Regions from separate parts of the Homo sapiens genome. Here region 2 is linked to region 1. The links are contacts of gene promoters, found by promoter capture Hi-C in blood cells and fetal thymus (Javierre and others, 2016). All regions are on one chromosome and are shown on one strand. Each heading gives the region's core, a stretch centred on a gene start or on the middle of the fragment in contact. The rest is flanking DNA. Distances are from core to core; before and after follow the strand shown. Region 1 holds the start of POGLUT3 (protein O-glucosyltransferase 3). Region 2 overlaps ALKBH8 (alkB homolog 8, tRNA methyltransferase).

Evidence for each region. Contacts are between HindIII fragments. The CHiCAGO score rates a contact against its expected background, and 5 or more counts as called.
Region 2: a contact is called between a fragment that was not itself captured here and the fragment with the promoter of POGLUT3 in region 1, in 2 of 17 cell types (total CD4 T cells and naive CD8 T cells). The highest score is 6.1, in total CD4 T cells.

Annotation. Positions count from the first base shown.
Region 1 is chr11:108,495,720-108,502,965 of GRCh38, reverse strand. It overlaps POGLUT3 (protein O-glucosyltransferase 3), which reads left to right and starts at 4,582. Exons shown (of 8, transcript NM_153705.5): 1 at 4,582-4,801. The coding sequence starts at 4,600. It overlaps LOC112267909 (a long non-coding RNA gene), which reads right to left and starts at 3,905. Exons shown (of 3, transcript XR_007062880.1): 1 at 3,316-3,905. RefSeq lists a silencer at 4,430-4,949. The HindIII fragment of the contact is 8,220 bases long and covers 2,819-7,246 here.
Region 2 is chr11:107,555,186-107,562,431 of GRCh38, reverse strand. It overlaps ALKBH8 (alkB homolog 8, tRNA methyltransferase), which reads left to right. Exons shown (of 12, transcript NM_138775.3): 2 at 1,533-1,667; 3 at 5,429-5,666. The coding sequence starts at 1,539. Among named protein-coding and RNA genes, the nearest start is that of ALKBH8, 6.9 kb to the left of the region's middle. The HindIII fragment of the contact is 2,049 bases long and covers 3,002-5,050 here.

The DNA of each region.
Region 1 (7,246 bases), core at 3,333-5,832:
TTTGGGAGCCCGAGGCAGGTGGATCACTTGAGGTCAGGAGTTCAAGACCAGCCTAGCCAACATGGTGAAAACCTGTCTCTACTAAAAATAAAAAATTACCCGGCATCAGGGTGCACGCCTATAGTTCCAGCTACTTGGGAGGCTGAGGCAGGAGAATCTCTTGAACCCAGGAGGCGGAGGTTGCAGTGAGCTGAGATTGTGCCACTGCCCTCTAGTCTGGGTGACAGAGTGAGAATCTGTTTCAAAAAAAAAAAATTGATGATCATACTTGATTCTACAAAACATTGTGTTTTAATAATATAAATGCCAGCACTAAGTTTCCCTCTAGGCCCATGTTCTTTTCCCCAATCATCCTTTCTAGATTATGTCATCTTTCCAGTCTGGAAACTACAATTCCATTCTAGAAATGTTTTGAAGAGATGTAGTAGGTACTGATATGATTGCCCAGCAGACCCTTTTTCTTTGCTCTGGAAACTGACATCCCCTCCCTTCAGGCCATATGTTGACTGTGGAAGAATCAATGTTCTTATACAACCCTAAGAATCTGGGCACAATTGATTGTTTCAAGGTGGAATGTTTTGGAGGAAATTGGTTCTGGATGGAAGTTAATATTTAAACCAATAGTCTCACAGTCTAAAATGTACCCTATAGACTGTAATACATGGAAGGGCAGGGACTGAGTTTATATACCCAATACCTTGCATAATGCATGCCATAAAGTCATGATATAAAGGGTGGGTTGAATAAATATTATTGAAATTATTAAAATAAAGTTTTGTGCATTTTATAGGATCTAATCTTGTCTAACCCTATGTACGTTTTTTTATTCATTGGTGACATGGAAAATTAGACAATTTCTACAAAAATTAGCCAGGTGTGGTGGGGTGCACCTGCAGGCTCGGCAGGAGGCTGAGGCAGGAGAATCGCTTGAACCTGGGAGACAGAGGTTCAATGAGCCAAGATCTCGCCATTGTAGATATGGGTGACAGATCGAGAGTGGCTGGGTGCCACTCCAGCCTGGCTGACAGAGCGAGAGTCCATCAAAATAAAATAAAATAAATGAATAAATAAAAATTAAAGAAAGAAAATTACACAATTTCTAAAGTTAAAGAGGAATTTATTATAAGGATGCAAGGATGTCTCAGAAACCAGAGATAGAGACGCTGCTCATGAACTGTACCAGACTCTAGTGCACTATACATAACCCAGAGAGTTTTCTGTATTTCTCTTCTATTTTCAGAATACAAGGGAAAAAAATAGCAAAGGTTATAATGCTGCTGTTGGAGAGCAGTCGGTACGTTAAAAATCTCCTAACCTTGATTTTAAACTCCCAGGGAAAGGGGATTAGTTCAGCATGAGTCAGTTTCCAAAATAGGAGCCAATAAACTGTAGCCATAGTTAAAGTTATGCTGTTACAAAGCCTCACTGTTAACCAGGCGGACTGTGGAGTAAAAAAAGAAGAGTTACCGAAAAGGTGGAAATGTTATGAACTGAGTCGACAATAATTAGCTGTGAATTTTATGTGACATTAATGTAAAGATTCCAGAGGCCACTGCAATTCACAGAAGTGTATTGAATCTAGACCTTCCAGAGTCACACACTGACTTTAATTATAGGTGTTTGAGATTGGAGTTCAATATGGAGATGAATGTGAAAGGGAATGAAAAACTTCTCGGAGTGTATCGTTTACTTCAAAGTTTTATACATGATGTTCCTGCTATCCAGAATGCTCTCCTCCTTCTCTTTATGTGGCTGATTCCTGTTTGACCTTCAAGGTTCGGCATAGATGTCATCTCTTTCAGAAGCCTCTCTTGGTTCTCCCAAGACTAGATTAGCTGGCCTTCATATGTAGTGTATAAGTACACTGTACTATGTTGGAAAAGGCTCTCTGCCATGGCCCTTGAACTTCTCTGATCATTCTTGCTGTTCTGCCACTCCAATGTCCAGCTCTTTATCAGTCCATTTCTCTGGGCGGTGTTTGTAGCAAGCAACGTTTGAGGGATGAGATAACATCTCCCCACCTTCAAAGAGCAGGCTTAATTCTGTGTAGCCTAAAAGAGGCAAATTCCTTTAGCTCAGTGCTCCTCTCTTGTAATGCAACCCACTTCAGGCATCCATCATAGTCTGTGTGCACTGTCCCCACAGGGCTTGGGAGGCTTAGGAACAAAAAGCAAACCAACATAAAGCTCTGGCTACTGCTTTTGCAGTGAATAATAAAGTTCTTTGATACAGGAGTGTTGTATCTTTTGACAGCATCCATGAAACAGTAACAGGCCAACTTGTTAGTTTGTAAGTGGGATAAAATCCTAGACCATGCAGTTCTTGAGGCCCATATTTTAACACCTATACGCTATTTACATTGCCTCTTAGTCTTTCTTCTCCACTAAACTACAGGCACTTTGAAGTCAAAATACAATATCTAAAATATGGTGGGCATTTAATAAATATGTGTTGAATGAATGAAATTTGATTAATGATAAAGAGTCTGGTCAAAGCACTGGTTGCTCTGAAGAGATATACTCTTTGGAGACAGGTTAAGATGAGAAAGAAAACAGGTTGGTGCAGGCTTAGTATTGCTAAACGCTAGTGTGTTCAGGTACAATTATATGGCTTCCCTGACGTGTTCTCAAAAAAAAAAAAATACTGGGTGTTAACCCAAATGTTATGTAATTTATTAGGCCATGTTTTACTATAATCCAGTACCGGCTAAACCTCAGATTATTTCTCTGGAAATTGTTTTAAGTCAGATTTTGAAAGAGTGTGAGCAAAATGTGTTCCATACAATTTTTTTAAGCGATAGTTGGAACAGAGCAAAGCTTTCTATTTAAAGCAAGGAGACATCCCCACAAAATAAAATTTATCAGTGAAAGTAATACCAAGTAATGTTACACTTTAGCCCTAAAATTTACCGGCAACTGACTACCAGTTCCTGAAACCTTTCCAAAGTACAAAGAATACTGTCCATAACCACTGCTTAGCATTACTAAAATAGGTCAAGAGAAGTGTGAAAATGTGGGAAAGATTTTGCCCTGGTAAAACTTGGTCACAGCAAGAATGCTGAGTAGCACGGTTAAAGCCGTGAGGCGGACAAAGGCTTGTCCAGTGCCTGGCTCTGATGTTTTGGGCATTAAGTTCCCCCAAGAGGGTGCAGAAATCCTGTGTCCATTCTGGGGTGTGAGTTCCTTCTGGATCATTCAGCCAGAGGAGAATCTTTATTGGCTTTAAATAAATTCAGATCTATTAACAATCCATTAACAAATTTGTATCCATTAACAAATTGGATAAAATGATCAAAAAAGAGAGGCAGATAGTAACCTTGACAATCTCTTCCTGGATCCAGCGTTCATCTTCTGAGGAGTGGTGGAGGTGGCTGAGACCAACCACGCACCACCACCCCTTCTCCCACTTCGATTACAGAGGCTTTGAGGTAAAGCTCGCACAAGGGCTCAAGGCAAGGCCTGGTCTTCTGCCACCCCAGTGCCCAGCTCCTCACTCTGGGCTTGGCCCAAACTCCGTGGATGTTCTGTAAACACCTGCTGGAAGAAGAGGAGTGCGGGAGGAAGCGGGGAAAGGGATGTGTGGGGTGGGGGGATCACGGTTCTGTGAGGGAGGCTGCTAAGCAGAAAAGCAACAAAACCGGCCACAAGAGAACGGTGCTGCTGTGAACAGAGGGCTGTGAGGGAGGGCGGGGGGCGTGACCTTGGCGCTCATCTTGTAAACTCGGAGACATTCCTTGGGAAAAGATATTTCCCTAAACTACATCGATCTTGGGGCCGGACCCTTTCATCGTCCCACAACAATCACCACCGGGTCTACGTCCTTTAAAAACACCTGAGCGGCGGACCCGGTGGCTCATGCCTGTAATCCCGGCACTTTGGGAAGCCGAGGCGGGCGGATTGCTTGAAACCAGGAGTTCAAGACCACCTTGGGCAACATAGGGAGACCCCGTCTCTACAAATAGTAATAGTAATAATAATAATAATAATAATAATAATAATAATAATAATAAATTAAATTAGCCAGCGTGGTGTCGTGTGCCTACAGTCAGTCCCAGCTACTCGGGAGGCTGAGGCGGGAGGATCTCCTGAGCCCACGAGTTCCAGGCTGCAGTGAGCTGTGGTCGCGCCATTGCACTCCAGCCTAGGCGACAGAGCCAGCCCCCTTGTCTGTATAAAAACAGAGAAAGAAAAGAGAAGAAAGAAGGAAAGGAAGGAAGAAAAAGAAAGGGAAAGACCACTGGAAGTGGAGGCCAGGCGTGCCTGAAGCCTTGGCAATCAACAGCCAGCGCACACTCGCAGCCTCGGTCTCTGGGCGGGCCTCTCCACCCCTTTCCTCCACGGGGCCTATGGGGCTGCGGGGAGGAAGGGGCGCACCCATCGTCGACCCCTACAGGGCGCGCAGTGGGTGATTGCGGCACTGGCTCGCGTTCCCGCCCGAGGGAGACGAGGCGGGACAGCGGGCGGGAAAGGGAGCCTGCGCCGCAATCTTTCCCGCCCGAAAGACCCGCCCCGCGGTGGGCCCCAGTCCCCGCCCGGTCCGCGGCGCTGCCGGCCCCTCCTCGCCGCCGCGGAGCTGGACCGCAGTTGTGCCCCGCCGACCATGCGCCGCCTCCCGCGGGCCCTGCTGCTGCAGCTGCGCCTCGCCCTGCTGGTGGCCGCGGGGGCCCCGGAGGTGCTGGTCAGCGCGCCGCGGAGCCTGGTGTGGGGGCCCGGGCTGCAGGCGGCCGTCGTCCTGCCGGTCCGCTATTTCTACCTGCAGGCGGTCAACTCGGAGGGCCAGAACCTCACTCGCTCTCCCGCAGGTAGTGTCCAGCCGCCGGCCTCCCTCGTCCCGCGGCCGGGTCCCCGCGCGTCCCCGCCGCCCGGGAGTCCGCCCGCGGCCTGCGTGGCGTCCCTCCCCGGCGTGTGTCGCCCCTTTTTGGGTCTGGTCAGCTCCTCTTCCCTCCTCCCGCCCATACTCAAAGCGGGCAAAAATCACCACGAAAGTTTGTGGAATGAATGAATGAATGAACTTGAAGGGCCCTTCCGCATTTAATGTGCAGGGACTGATGTTGCGAATGGACGGCGCCCGGGCGTTACAAGGAGTGTGCCGTGAGTCACACGTTGCCTTCCATCTCGGACTTAGTTGTCTGAACTGTGAGGGATTGCAGGGAGCGCTTTCCAGTGGTGAGTCATCAAGCCGACGGATCGCGTCGGATTACATGGCTTAGGCCTGGTGGGTTTGGAGCAACGAAATCCTACGCAGAGGAAATGTCAGAGCCGTAGGAAGGAGGAGGGGTTTACGTGTTAGTTTTTTGTTTCCTTTTTAGTTCTGAGTTTTTGAAAGCAGATTACAGGAACTAGGGAAACTCAGTAGAAATCATTCGGTTTTCCCTCCACGGAGGGTGAGATGGATCTCGTCCTGAATCCCTTTCTGCCCGGTCCTCCTCCCACGTTGTCCTTCACGTCTTAACCTTTGCAACTTCTTAAAACTTGTCCTGCTGGTTTCACGCTGTTGTCAGTCAGGATTTGCTAATGTATAATTTGGGGCTCTGGCCAACTAGCACCTTGTTGTATCAGCGAAGAGACAATTAGAATAAACCAGTGCCTCTGCCCCTGCTAGTCCAGCTGGGAACATAGCTGCCAGAAGTGTGTCCCAACTTGGGAAAGGGGTAAGGGGGTCTTGACAGCTGGGCAAAGCAGAGAATTTAGGAACCAAACATAATTCACTTTTAGATTTAATGATTTTTAAAATTTCATTCATTCAAGAAATACTTCTTTGATGTCTACTTCTGTGTTTGGTAATTCTGCTGGGAATCTAAGGATGAAAAGACAATGCCTGACCATCAAGGAACTTACAGTCTGTTGGTCAAAGACATGCAAATAACTGATCACTGTACAAGATAATTGAAGGTATGTACAGAGTGCAGTGGCAACATTGAAGCACTGCCAGAGACTGGAGAAATCCAGGAAGATTTCAGGAGCAGAGACTTGAAGGATGAGAAGGTTTGCTGGGCAGGCATATAGAAGGACGCCATGGCATGTGCAGAAGCACAGAGGCGTAGGAGACCGTGGTGTTCGGGAAAATAAGTACTGTAATTTAATGATACTGAGCGGAAAAGCCTGGTTGATTGTAGCCTCTGGTCTTCAAGCGCCTTGAATGCCAAGCAAATGACTTTATAACTAGATAAAAGAGAGCCACTGGAGAAATTTGAGCTGAGGCAAGAATCTGCCTCTCCCTTAACTACCTCAGTGGCTTGTTTTCTACATTTGATTCAGAACACCACTCCTGAAGTTGTCTTTGGGCATTGCTTTGATAACGTGTCTACCAGTTAGACCCTAAATACTCAGACAACTGGTTTCATATGCATGATATGCATTTAGGTAAAATAATTCCGACTCTATTGACAGAAACGCATGTGTGTATATCAGGGTTTCACAAACTTTTTCTTTAAAGGGCCAGATAGTAAATAATTTAGGCTTTGTAGGTGATATCATCTCTCACATTTATTCAGCTGTGCTTTGTAGCCATGGACATATAACAAACCCGTTTATGTTACAATAAAACTTTTTATGGCCACTGAAATTTCAATTTCATATAGTTTTCCATAAGTCACAGAATATTATTATTTTGATTTTTCTCCAACCCCCCTCCTCCTTTTTTTTTTTTAAGAGACAAGGTCTTTGTCACCCAGGATGCAGTGCAGTGGTACAGTCATAGCTACTGCAGCCTCAAATTCCTGGCCTCAAGGGATCCTCTTGCCTCAGTCTCCCCAAATGCTGGGATTACAGGCATAATCCACCATGCCCATCCCCATTTTAAAAATATAAGAATCATTGTTAGCTTACAGGATTTACAAAAACAGGCACTGAGCTGGATTAGCTAGTTTGTCAATCTCTAATGTATGTTAAAGACTCTCAGTTAAAATCCAAATGATACATGACTTAAAGTTGTGTATATGTTTTATATGTACATATATTATATATACATAAATATATTTAAACAAACGAAAAAGTTTACAGACAGTTTCTATTAAATATCTTAACAGAAGGAAAGTTACATTTATGATTCTGCATGGTTTACCCCTGTGATCTGTGACTTTTCTTTTTTTACCTTTTTTAGTCTTAGAAAGACTTCTCAGCCTGGGCAACATAGCAAGATTCCATCTCTACTTAAAATAAAAATTTTAAAAATTACCTACTTGGGAGGCTGAGGCAGAAGGATCAGTTGAGCCCAGGAGCTCAAGGTTGCAGTGCATTATGATTGT
Region 2 (7,246 bases), core at 2,777-5,276, 940 kb after region 1:
GCTCTTTACTGCCTCACTGAATACTTTCCTTTTTATTTGATTCTATAGTGTTCTTATCCTTCAGTACATGGCACAAATCTCCTGTTTTGAGGCCTTCCCAACTTTTCCAGTTTACATACTTTTTTTTTTTTTTTGAGATGGAATTTCACTCTGTTGCCAGGCTGGAGTGTAGTAGCATGATCTTGGCTCACTGCAACCTCTGCCTCCCGGGTTCAAGCGATTCTCGTGCCTCAGCCTCCCAAGTAGTTGGGACTACAGGTGCCCACCACCACACGTGGCTAATTTTTTGTACTTTTAGTAGAGACAGAGTTTCACCATGTTGACCAGGCTGGTCTTGAACTCCTGACCTCAAGTGATCTGCCTGCCTTGGCCTCCTAAAGATTACAGGTGTGAGTCACTGCTCCCAGCCCACATCCATCTTATTTTTGTCTCTAATTTGTGTCATACCTAAAGACTGTACCATCAGCATTAAATTATATAAAGATGTGTCATAGTCTTATTGTTTAGTGTTTGTTTTCCACAACTAAGTTACAAACTTGTTGAAAGCATAAACTATGTACTTTATTATGGTTGCATGCTGCAGGGTGCTGAGACTGTGTGTATTCACTCATTTATTATTCATTTAGCCCTACCATCAAATATTTATTGAGCAACTACTATGTGCTGGCATTCCTGCTCTCTTGGGATTTATATCATGATGGAGGAGTTAAGCTAACAGATGAATCATCACAAATTATGTTACATTTTGTGAACAAAATAAAAGACTACTGTGATAAAGTGTGATAAAGCATGATATTGGGTGCTGATTTGGATGGTGTGATTATAGAGACCTCTTTGGGATTCTGTTATTTAAAAAATTGTAGATATAAAATATATGACACATACAGTTTTTAAAATAGTAAAACAAACACCTACACCTACCATGTAACTGAAGAAACACCCTTTGATGCTCCTATGTGTCACTTTCATGTTAATTTCCTTTCCTTTCACCCACAGAAATAGCCTCTCTCCTGAATTTTGTGTTTATAATTTCCTTGCTTTTTTTTTTGGCACTGCTATGTATGTATTTCTAAATAATATATGGCTTACTTTTTGATTATGACCTTTATGTAAATGGAATCATACTGTAGAGTCTGCTAATTTTTTGTGTGTTATTTCTCCCCCCACCGCTCCCCTGCCTGCTCCTTGCCTTGGTTTACGTTATAGTTGTGAAATTTGTGTATGGCACATTTTACTTAGGACCTCATAAGTAAAGAATTCATCACCTATGAGTAAAATAGCACACTTAATGGAGCTACCACATTGGAACATTTTTTAGAACCATCAGAGCTATGCTATTAGATATTCTTAGATATTTGTTCATTTTTTATTTATCTGTTCTCACTTCTCTTAGTTGGTACAAGGTAAATGAAGCATTTTTAAAAAATTGTCACAGAAATATTGATAAACTATAGAATGTATGAATAACATCATTATAATTGTTCCTTCAGGACTCTTAAGGTTGACTTTTTTACTGTCTTGTTTTTTTACAGTTTGCTATGGACAGCAACCATCAAAGTAATTACAAACTCAGTAAAACTGAGAAGAAGTTCTTAAGGAAACAGATTAAAGCCAAGCATACTTTGCTGAGACATGAAGGCATTGAGACAGTATCCTATGCCACTCAGGTGACCTAAAACTACTATTATTATTAGAATGTAAATGTACTGACATGTTAATGTATTATATTAATATTTGCTAATAATTGCCTAAGGCTGTAATTGTTCAGTCATGTGTTACATCCATATTAGAGGTACATATGATATGAACTGCTAACTTTCTATTTTGGTCCATAGCCTATAGTTTGCATTTCTATTTATTTTGTTGTTTGAACTAGAAGAGGTTGTAGTTATATATTAATAATAATACTGTGCAAGTTTCTCAGTTTCCTAAGCATACTTATATTCATTATTATATTTAATTCCCTAGAAGTCCTTATGAGATAGGTGAGAAAACTAAAGTTCTGAGAGGTTATGATATGTCTCCATTGATATAAGCTAGTAAGTAGCTAATAGAAACTTAAAGCTAGATCTTCCATATCCTACTACAGCCCTTGTTCTTCTCTTCCCAACCTTAACCTGTTTTATAAAGTATTTTGATTATGTGCTGTTAAACATTTTTATTTTATTAGACCTTATTAACAAAGTCTTTTCATTATCTGCGGACAATAATTAAATGAGATGATAAATGTGAGGATCGTGAGATTTCCTGGGTTATGAATTAGGAGAACTCAGTTTAACTCTTAGCTTTTCTGGACACGAGTAGTAGTATCCTCTGACCTCAGCTTTCTTCATTTTTAAGCAGGGCATAGTATTGCATACCTTTTTAACCCCATTAGATTGTTAGATTCCAGAGAATCTAATTGTACTTACTGGACATTAAATTACTCCATGAATATAAGGAGTTCTTATCTTTTTGGCTCATAAAGTTATAGAATAAAAGTAGAAAGTAAGCTTTAGATATCATTTAATTGAGGGGTGGACATACAATTGAGAAGGTGGAGCAGGGATTAAAACTTAGGCCTCTCAACTCTCAGACCAATACTCTTGCCTTAATGCTTACTATGCTGTCTTCTGTACAACATCATAGCTTGAGAATGAGCAGTCTGTTGAGGCACATTTGAATTTAGGAGGTAAAAGGCCCATACTTGGAGTTAAATATTAATGTCTTCAGAGAATTTAAGCCACATTCCTATAGCAAGGATGAAATAGATAATAGATTAGAATTAATATGTTTGCATACACTTTACTGTTTCAGTCAAGAGCCACTGAGGCTGTGAGACATTCAGAAGATTAAACTGACATACACTGCTCTCATCACTTTCCAAGAGTGACTTGTGTTCCTTTCCTTACAGGGTTTATGAAGAGAAGTAGCAAGAAAAAAAAAATAGGCTCCATTTCTTTGACCCCTCTGAAGCTTGTTTCTGGTTGGGTCTGCCTTTTCTTTAGGATCTCTAGAAGCTTTGATGTCCTTCATGGCTTCCAAAGTAGCATTTTATTTAGGCTTTCTTTTTTCTCCATATTCTTAAAGGAAAAGAATAAAATTGTAGATGGACCTCTAATTATATTTTATCTTTCCAGGGGAGAGCAAATATTGTTTTAATGATATTGTATTAGTCTGTTGTCATGCTGCTGATAAAGACATACCCGAGACTGGGTAATTTTTTAAAGAGAAAGAGGTTTAATGAACCCACAGTTCCACGTGGCCGGGGAGGCCTCACAATCGTGGCAGAAGGCGAAAGTCCTGGCTTACATGGCGGCAGGCAAGAAAGAATGAGAGCCAAGCGAAAGGGGAAACCCCTTATAAAACCATCAGATCTCATGAGACTTATTCACTACCACGAGAACATTATAGGGGAAATGGCCCCCATGATTCAATTATTTCCCAGTGGGTCCCTCCCACAAAATGTGGGAATTATGGGAGCTAAAATTCAAGATGAGATTTGGGTGGGGACACGCCAAACCATATCGGATGTATTATAATTTTAGGCTCCTTTGTACAAATTTATGGCATTACAGATTTTTCTAGAGCAATGATCCTCAAATTGTCAGGACCAAAGATAACTTAAAAAAAATTCACATTCTCTACTTCATACATACTCCTCCTTATTTAGAAAATTGCTTGAACAATTATAAATAAAATAATAGTTCCATTTAATTATTGCATTAATTATATTACATTTAGTTATGACATTTAATTATATGTATCTCACATTTAATGGAAAATAAGTTCCTCTCCTCTTCTACCGCACTTGTTTTTGTGTGGTTTACCTTTAGAGTTGCCCACAAAACACTCAGACGGCATCTTAGAGGACTTCTAGTATTCCTGAAGTCATACTTCATCATCTTCCATTCCTAGATGGGGTAGTGGACCCTCAACACCAATGAAACCTTTGCTCTTCCATAGATTTAGGAATATGGGAATGTTTTTGCAACTATGGCCACATATAACCAAGTTATTTTGGTATTTTAATTAATAAACCTCATTAAGTGAGGTCCAGGGCAAGCCATCTGAGACTCCATTTTACTCCATATCATATAGTATTGTATTAGTGGGCTTGTTTATTATGTATGTATATGCTTGCATGCATACAAAGTACTGGCTGTCCCATGACAAAACAGTTTTACTTTCCTTATTGTCCAATTTCATAATAATTCTTTTATATCCTTTTCAAACAAAGTTCTAGGTATTCTTATTTTGTGTAATAAACCAATACACAATGTACTATCACTGAGCTTAGTATAAATTAAGGGTTGGCAAACTACTGTCCTTAGACTAAATCAGGGTTGTGACCAAAATAATGAGTTTTACATTCTTAAAGTGTTAAAAAATAATACTAAGACTATCTGACAGAAACTTTTATGGCCTGCCAAGCCTAAAATATTTACTATCTACCTCTTCTCAGAAAAACGTCATCAACACCTGGTATAAATGAAGAAATTGATGAGAGTAGGCCATCCATGGCTTTCTTTTGTTATATTGAAATGTTTTTAGAAGTCATAGAACATAAATTAAAAATCTTTACATTGTATAGAATGGTTAAGTATAGAGACTATATGGGTGCTAGACCATGAACATCAGAATAAAAATAAGAGACTCCTCTTTCATCCCTGCAAAATTTCCTTGAATAAAGTTTAGTGCAGGACTATGCAAACAGCAGGAAGTAATCGTGAAACTTACAAAGGAAAAAGTTTTCATTGTGAACTGACTGAATTACTTAGTCTGAATTTCCTTAGAGGAAAATTTTTTCCTAATTATGTTCAATAGAAGCTATAATTGGTTTTTCTTTGAGGTAATAGTACCTTTACTTTTAATTTTTAGTAAACATTGTATAATGGTTATATTAAAAGTGCGGATCCTGGAAACGGACAGAAATAGGTTTAAACCCACCCCTAATCACCACCTTAACCTAATTTGTCAGATCTTCTTCTATGAAATTGGGCTGATATTACCCAAATAAATTCAATATGTTGTGAAGATTATGTTAATGAGGATTGAGTAGATAAAAGCTTATAGAACAGTCTTGCCAAAAAGCAAGTGTTATGTAACTGTCCTTTCTCCTCTCCACCTCTTTCATTATGTTAAATTTATATTTCTGAATAATAGTCATGTTTTAATTTGCATTTATGGTCATTTAGAAATGAATATTTTGTGAAATTGGCTATTTAAACAACACAATTTACAATATAGGAGTCCTTTTTATTCCCCAAATTTTTAGTAAATTGGTTTACATACTTTGTATGAAATTAGCAAACCAAACAACCACTACAAGGAAATGCTTTTTTTTTCTTAATTACATCTTTTTTAAAAAAAATCTTATTTTAAAACAAATGGGTTGGTATCAGTTGCTCATGTTACTTTCTTTTTGTTTGTTTGTTTGTTTTTTAAGAGCCTGGTTGTTGCCAATGGTGGTTTGGGTAATGGTGTGAGTCGGAACCAGCTGCTCCCGGTTTTAGAGAAATGTGGACTGGTGGATGCTCTCTTAATGCCACCTAACAAGCCGTACTCATTTGCAAGATACAGAACTACAGAAGAATCTAAGAGAGCCTATGTTACCCTCAATGGAAAAGAAGTAGTGGATGATTTAGGACAAAAGATCACTCTGTATTTGAATTTTGTGGAAAAAGGTATTATCATACAATTATCTTTTAAAAAATGATTCTTCTGGGTGTTTTCTTTTCATAGACTTAAGTTGGGAGGTTCAGTTATTGTGAAACAAAATGAGGAAGCAGGTTAGCAGCTCCTTTTACTTTAACAAACATTCTTTAAGCACCTATTTGTGCCAGGCATGGGACAAGTAGTTGACAGTACAGAGGTGAATAAGATACAACCTGCCTTTACAAAGCTAGTCCCACCAGTCAACAATATATTTATTAGGCACATGGCTTATTTTGGAACCCTCCTGCCTAATTGTGTTTTTCAAAATTTAATAATGAGGGTTTGCATTACTAGTTTATTTCACATATCTACCCAGGAGCTTTGAATTAATCACTTAAGAATGAATCGTGATCCAAATGATCATGTACCAATCTTCATATTTATAGCAGAACACCTGTAGCTACCAAAGATTCCTAAAACTTTATTTTTATTTATTTATTTATTTTTTTGCTTTTTGAGACAGAGTTTTGCTCTTGTTGCCCAGGCTGGAGTGCAATGGCACAATCTCGGCTCACTGCAACCTCCACCTCCCGGGTTCAAGCAATTCTCCTGCCTCAGCCTCCTAAGTAGCTGGGATTACAGGCATGTGCCACCATGCCTGGCTAATTTTTGTATTTTTAGTAGAGATGGGGTTTCACCGTGTTGGCCAGTCTGGCCTCGAACTCCTGACCTCGTAATCCGCCTGCCTTGGCCTCCCAAAGTGCTGGGATTACAGGCGTGAGCCACCGTGCCCGGCTGATTCCTAAAACTTTATGGTGGTGCTGTCCAGTAGAACTTCCTGTGATGGTAGAAATGTTCCTGTCTGTGCTGCCCAGTTCAATAGCCACTGGATAGTCTGATTGAGGAACTGAATAATTTAATTAAATAAGTATAGCTTTATATATTGATTTACAGAATTGTACAGGAATTATTACTTCTGCCCCATGAAAATGAGATGTATTGAGATGAACTTAGATTTAAACATCTAATCATATATTCATTTGCCACCTATTTAGGCAGTAAAAGAGCCCTGTTTTAGATATCCTAGGAGTGGGTAGGTGACTATAATCTGCTCAAATTTATGTTTTTGTAAAATAAGACTCGAAGGAAAACTTTTACAGACTCTTTTAAAGGTATATTTTAGAAACTATATTTCTCAGTGCTCATATGCATTTAATTTTAAATCTGACTTAAGCTTTACATATTTTGGAAACTAGATTATCCTCATGTTTTACATGTTTCTGGTCAGTTTTTGAAAACTGAGTGGCTGAGGAGTAAGTTTTAATCAGAAAATAGTCATTGGGTTTACCCCCGTCCTCCATGGTGAATATTCAGTAAGAAATTGCACAAAGTAAGTTTTGGAGTGCTCTTTATTTGAAATTCTTCATTAGATCCATATGTACTTTTAAGGCTCTGGCAATCACATTTATAACCTTGAAAGTCATTTTTAATTGAGAACAGAAGTGTGTCACAAATAGTTTTTTTTATTTTTTTTTGAGACAGAGTCCTGCTCTTTCACCTAGGCTGGAGTGCAGTGGCACGATCTCAGCTCACTGCAAGCTCCACCTCC